Regions from separate parts of the Homo sapiens genome. Here region 1 is linked to region 2. The links are contacts of gene promoters, found by promoter capture Hi-C in human tissues and cell types (Jung and others, 2019). All regions are on one chromosome and are shown on one strand. The core of a region is centred on a gene start or on the middle of the fragment in contact, and the rest is flanking DNA. Distances in the headings are between cores, read along the strand shown.

The links. Contacts are between HindIII fragments. The study calls those that stand out against the background at their distance.
Region 1: a contact is called between a fragment that was not itself captured here and the fragment with the promoter of TXNRD1 in region 2, in 1 of the 25 tissues and cell types used here (heart left ventricle).

Annotation. Positions count from the first base shown.
Region 1 is chr12:104,796,218-104,799,588 of GRCh38, forward strand. No RefSeq gene overlaps it. Among named protein-coding and RNA genes, the nearest start is that of SLC41A2, 160 kb to the right of the region's middle. The HindIII fragment of the contact is 7,020 bases long and covers 1-3,371 here.
Region 2 is chr12:104,213,820-104,217,377 of GRCh38, forward strand. It overlaps TXNRD1 (thioredoxin reductase 1), which reads left to right and starts at 1,960. Exons shown (of 17, transcript NM_001093771.3): 1 at 1,960-2,074. The coding sequence starts at 1,984. RefSeq lists enhancers at 1,736-2,352, 2,353-2,968 and a silencer at 1,823-1,912. The HindIII fragment of the contact is 11,252 bases long and covers 1-3,558 here.

The DNA of each region.
Region 1 (3,371 bases), core at 366-2,865, 580 kb after region 2:
AGAAGATTTAGAAATTAGGAATTCACTCTAAAGAAGGGGTAGGTGAACGTGTGTGTGTGTGTGTGTGTGTGTGTGTGTGTGTGTGTGTGTGTGTGTGTGTGTATGTGTGTGTATGTGTATGTGCAGGGCCAGATAGTAAAGATTTTAGGCTTTCAGGCTCTATGGTCTTTTTTAAGGCTACTCAATTCTACTGTATAGAGGGAGAGCAGCCATAGGCCATATGGAAATGAATGGACATGGCTGAATTCTAATAAGCTTTATTTATCCAGGCAGCAAACTGGATTTGGCCCACTGGCTGAAATTTGCCAAACTTTGCTATAAATCATGCAGCAAAGGGCCCAGCCTTTACTTGCCTAGTAATGGTGAAATTACAAGATAGGATGACAAGTGCATTTGTAATTTTGTTATATATGGCTAGATTCCCCACTATAGAGCTTTTATTCTGCTCTACCACCAGCAATTTTGTCTCCCTACAGCCTTGCCAAGAGAATGTTTTATCCAGTTTTGAATTTTTGCCAATCTGATAGGTAAGTAGTATCTCAGTGTGATTTTAATTAGCATTTTTTTGAGTGGTATTAAATTTTTTTTTCTGTGAACCATCTCTCCTCTGGTTATTTTACTATTGGGTTGCTGGTATTTTTTCCCTTGATTTATAAAAGTTCTTTGTTTGCCAAGGAGATTAACCTTCAATATGTATTCTGCATTTGTTGGATAAAGTGTTCTACAGATGTCAATTAGGTCAAGGTGGATGAGAGTGTTCAAATGCTTGAGATACCTAGTCGTCATTCAAGTAGAGTTGTCTGGCAGGTATTTGGAAATACAGATTTAAAACTCAGTTGAGAGGTTGGGACTAGACAGTTTTGGAATAATCAGTACAGATGATATTTATAACAATAAGATGGGTAAGATCACATCGGGAAAGAAAGTAGATAGAGAAGAGATGATAAAACTGAGCCCTAGAGCATTCCAACATTTAGAGATTGAGAACAAGAGAAGCGACCAGCAAAACAAACTGAGAAGGGGCTTTTAGTAGGGTAAGGAAAGAAAGCGAAGGGCAGACTTTTGGAAGCAAAGTAAAGAAAATATTTCAAGATGGAAGGAGATTCTGTTAAATGACTTTAGAGATTAAATAAGGTAAGAATTCTTATTAGAAATTGATCATTGGATTTGGCAATGTGGAGGCTATTGGTGACTTTGACAGTGAAGATATGTTTTTGGTAAGGAAGTTTAAGAGGAAGAGAATAATTTTGTATAAGAAAGAATCTTGAGTGGCATATTTTTGTCCTAACATCAAATGACTGGTTATTTAAGAAAGACGAAGTAGAGGACAAAGCAAAAAAGCTAAGCATATCGAGTGTCTGAGTAAATCATGATAAGGTTTGTGAAGAATGAATTTATAAAAGCAATTTTTGTGTGATCATGTTGGTTACAATTAGAAGGGAATTATTTGTAAGTTTTTCTAAAGATTGAACTTTGATATTAAAAATACACTAATACAAAATTAAATTTTTGGTCCCCTATGCTAGAATAGCCAGGTTTTCTCAAATTTTTGATCTGCTCTTAGCAAAAATTACAAGACATTTTTATTTTTAATTCTAAAATCTGTTTCTTTAGCAGGCATTTTCTAAACTGTACAGTTTCTATTTCTGCCACATTTCTTCCTGACATTCATTTAATGTCCCTAGTTTCAGGCTGAAAATGCTGTCTTCATTCAGGTTGGTAATTTCATTTAACAAGGTAGAGTTTTCCTGTTGAAGCTTCTCAGATCTATTTCTCAGAAGTTCGACTTTGGCTCTATCTTGCGACATGTGATTTGCAGGTCATAACATCTTGCCTCCTGTTCTTCTTTCTCTACTTGAGAAGGACTGAGATGATCTCTCTCTCCTTCAACTTTTTTGTCATTCCTTAACTTTTTTCTCCAGCTCCAACTCTGTCGTTATAACCTGACAGTAAAATGCTTATCCTGAAGGCCTGGAAAATCAGTGTTTTCTTCTAGTATAACTTAATTCTGTTGGCTTTTCTTAATGTGTCTGAATTGTTCCATGTAACCAGGAAACTTCTGATGATGTTAGTAAGAGACATATATTCCCCTGCTCAAGGTACTAGTTTTCTTGTTTATATTTCTCTATAATATGGTATACATTCATAACCTTGGGCACACTCTTCCTGTGTCTGATTAAGTTCAAGTACCCTTTCATGAGGTTTGACTTCCAGATTATCTAAATAGGCTTCCCATAAGGAGAAGCAGTTACACTGGAGGAGGTTTTTATTTTTGGTAACTGGCCTAAAAAGCAAATATTTTATATTTACCAAGATAATTTCCTGTTGTTATCTTTATTTTTATTATTATGTAGAAAAATTGAGCTTTGAAAAAGTTGCTTTTTTTTTTTACATTTATGAAACTTTATTGCTTTTGAAGTCTTTGGATTATCACTCTGGTTAAATGAATGGCTATTATTTCACAGTGACCTGCGATCCTGTTTTGATCAAGTATTTTGAACTTTTTGGCATCTTTGGCAGGCTTCTCCAGGATCAACATTCTAAATTAAATCTTTTTGACCTAGAATTAACTTCAGGATTTTCCATGTGGGCCACTGGAGAGCCTCAAAGGATGTATCTTTCATCTTGTAGAGATATTAAGTGACTAGGCTTGTTTGTACGGGAAGTATTGTCAAATGATAAGTGATGCTAGGTTTTCTTTCAGTTACATTTATGGGTATGTTATTGATATGAATGTCCCCAACTGTACAAAACTCTTAGAAATCTAATATCTTATTGGCCATAATTCTGGTTATTATATTGTATGCCATAAAATAACCAAATTTCCTTGTCAATTGCTGATTGTAATGAATCAAAGTCAGATTCTTAACCATGGCTATTTTAAGTCTCTGTCATTCACAATTATTGTTTTGATTTTTCTCCAAAAGCATTTGCAATTAGTTTCATGAAAAATACTCTAACAACTACTCTTAAATACAGGTTTCTAATAACTGTAAGATCAATGGACTACATAAAAAATTTTCAAAAATTTAATGAAGAAACTGATGGGTTCATAAAACAGATAAGATCAAGCAAAACAAAAATTAATTACATGAGATTAAGTAACTGATGAAGATGTTTTTATGTTTATTTGAAACATTATTGGTTCTTAAATGTTTTATTTTCCAGATTGAAGGAACTTTTTTTTTCTTAGTTATCCATAGTTTACAGAAATTTGGTAAAGTGTACTCGTGTGAACAAAGATGGAAGCAATTGCTTTTCTACCTACTTGATGCCTCCAAAATGTGGGAACTATTCATGGTTATTTGCATAAATTCAGTAAAAATCTGCTTTCTATAACTGGATACAATGAAAATACTGGTTATATTACC
Region 2 (3,558 bases), core at 710-3,209:
CTAGGGAGGCTGAGGCAGAAGAATAGCGTGAACCCGGGAGGCGGAGCTTGCAGTGAGCCGAGATCGTGCCACTGCACTCCAGTCTGGGCAACAGAGCGAGACTCCATCTCCAAAAAAAAAAAAAAAAAAAGCCTTTGGTTCAGTTTTATTTGTTTTCTGTGTTTAAGCAAATAAACACCCAGTGTTTTCCAAGAGCATTTTGACTCTGGGCTGCTCTCCAGAGAAGCAGGATATAAGCTTGTCCACAAACCCAAATGAAAACAAAGGGCCCACACAATTGCCACGCATCTGGTGACCAGACAAGTTCACTAAATCTCAGCTGGGGTGGAAGTTCCTTGAGACCAGGGAATTTGAGTCACCTTGTAACCCTAAACAAAGCCAGGCATAAGTTGGATGCTTACCATATGTTAGTTAATTGAAAGAAGGAAAAACAGAGCACTGCACTGATAGAGAACAGTGACTGTGCACCTGATGTGCCGCAATGTGGTTTGGTGTTAAAAAAAATCACTCTCATTCATTACTAGTAGGAGTTCAAATGGGAACCACAGTTCCAAAAAAGCAATTTTGGCAACGTGTAATGACAGCCTTAAAACTATAAACACAAAGATGTTCCCTGCAGCCTTATTCATAATTTTTAAAAATAAAAAACAAACTAAACATCTAATAATAGGCTATGTAATCGTCCAGTAGCTCTAGTGGATGGACTATTACATTATTATAATTATTCAAATTAATATTTTCCCGCTTCTTCCCTGCTTTCCTTCAAGAGGTGGGGGAGGCCACCTGGCCCAAGCTGAAGGCCAAGATACAAGAAAAAAATGCAAAGGTTCTATTTTGGCAGCGTTTACATGGGCAGGGTGTCGTGGGGAGGCTGGCGGAGGGAGTGGGAGCAGGTGACAGAGAATATAGGGTAAGTTAGAAGGCTCTCAGTGCTGGTAAAAATAAAATAGAGTAAAGTAAAGGGTGGGGGTAGAGTTGAGGGGGGCGTGATCAGATTTCTGTTCAAATAGGATGGTCTTTTTGCTGTGAACTTAAGACTGCTCTAAGGCCAGGCGCAGTGGCTGACGCCTGTAATCCCAGCACTTTGGGAGGCCGAGGCGGGCGGATCACAAGGTCAGGAGATCGAGACCATCCTGCCTAACACGGTGAAACCCCGTCTCTACTAAAAATACAAAAAATTAGCTGGGCATGGTGGCACACGCCTGTAGTCCCAGCTACTCGGGAGGCTGAGGCAGGAGAATCGCTTGAACTTGGGAGGCAGAGGTTGCAGTGGGCTGAGATCGCGCCACTGCACTCCAGCCTGGGTGACAGAGTGAGACTCCGTCTCAAAAAAAAAAAAAAAAAAAGACTGCTCTAAAAAATAAAGTGTATTAAAAAGAAACTACGATGTTCAGTGTATGCTTCATCTACGGTCAAAGAGGCAAAGACTGAAGTGACAGTGGAAGCCAGGTGGTTATCTGGGAGGCTTACAAGACTATGTGATAGTATGGAAAATACTAGTATTAAGTGAAATGCTGGATGCAAAACTATGCATAGAGGGGAAAAACTGGAAAGAAATAGTAAACACAGCAAAAGTAGTTTGTGTGAAGGATAAATTTTTTAAAATTATTTTTTGTAGAAACAGGGTTTCTCTACATTGCCCAGGATGGTCTCAAACTCCTGGGCTCAAGCGATCAATCCTCCCACCTCGGCCTCCCAAAGTGCACAGGTGTAAGCCACCGCGCCCAGCCGAAGGATAAGGATTTTGGGTGGTGCGCTCTTTTCTCCTTTCCATTTCTGCATTTTCCAATTTACCTTTAGCGACCGTTCTTTCCTGTTAAAAAAAAAAAATTCACGACCTTGAAGAAGATACACGGGCTATGACTTCGCTGTTGTCACCGAGCGCCCCGCCCACCGCGTTCTCCGACCCGCGGCCGGCAGGGGGCTCGCGGCCTCCGCCAGGCGTCCTTCGGCTCCGTCAGTTCCCACAGGGCCTTGTGCGACATGGGCTGCGCCGAGGGCAAGGCAGTGGCGGCGGCCGCCCCAACGGAGCTGCAGACGAAAGGCAAGAACGGCGATGGCCGCCGTAGGTCAGGTACGACCGAGGGCGAAGGCCTGGTCCCCAGGTCGACGGGCCGAAGCGGGCCTTCCGGCCGGGGTTGGGGATAAAGTGCCCCGGAGCCCTGGCCTTGAAGCCCCTCACTGGAGTCAGTGACTGACCGCGCGCCACGCTGGAGACCCCAGAAACGCTCCCCCAGGTCACCCCGGGAGACGGAGGCCGGCGGCCGGCCGAGGGCTGCCCCGCCCGCTGGCTGTGAGAGAGGTGGGAGGTGGAAGGAGGAGCGGGCCCGCCGCGAGGACCTGCCCGGAAACCTGTCGGAAACCGAACCGAGATCTCGGCAGCGACCCGCCTGATTTCGCTCAGGGCCCGTTAGGGCGTCCTCTTCCTACAAGCACCGTGTTTCCAATGAAAGGTTACGGGGGAAGCGACCAAACCGACAGCCGAGTCCGGGGGTGCCCCTTCACCTCTCCAGAAGCCCCCGGCCCACTCCCAGCATCCTCCTCCATCGAGAATCTTGTCCGACACGCCTTCCCGGCCCCCTTTCTCCATCCCCTTGAATTTTGGGCACATTTCTCCCACCATCATCCCGCTTTATCCTTTCACTTGTTCTTCCAGAAGAGAAAGCTCCCAGTCTCTTCTCCATTGTCCGGATAATGCCAATAATGGCTAGTGGTTACTAAGCACTGACATGAGAGGGGCCTTTGGAAGCACTAGACATGGGTAATAATCTTGGTTCATGTTTCCAGCCATACTGAGAGATTTATCATAAACCCCATTATACAGATGAAGAAACTGAGAAGCAAAGAGGTTATAAAACTTACCCAAAGCACACAACTAGTAAGTGGAAGAGCTGGGATACCAGTTGAGGCCATCTGACTCAAAAGCCCTGGTCATAGTCATATGGCCGCCTCCACCTTTTTTATAGGCTTGAGAAAGTGAGGCTCCAAAAAGTGCCTTGCCCAATGGCTAGAATTATTAAATGCTGTAGGATCTGCCTCTTTCAAAGGCTTACAGTTTAGTTACAAGGCAGCATATGGTGAAGGGCTAAAAGGAGTGGTAAAAACAGCCAAGTGGGGATGGCAGCTCCCATAGATGAGGTAGGATTTGGTAGAGGTGTCTGAAGGGAGAACATTCTTGTTAGGGGAAGCAGCCGGTGAGACCATGCTAGAGATAGGGAGGCCTGTATATCCTGCTGGAGTTAAGGACTTGGATTAGGGGAAGGGAAGAATAAAGGAACAGGGTAGGAGCAAGGTCAGGCAAGGTCCAGGTCAGGCAGCTAATTTGTGGCCATTAGTACAATGAAGGAGTTTGAGCAGGTGCATCCCAAATTGACGTTTCATGTGCCATCCTCAGGATCTTCTTGATATCTATGTCCTTCCATTTATTTACTGTTTTTCTTTAGCTACATTCTTTTTGTGTGTGGTTAAAAAAAAAAAATTTACCATCTTAACAATTTTGTTTTTTTTTTTTTTTTAGTTTCGCTCTCGTTGCCCAGGCTGGGGTGCAATGGCGCCATC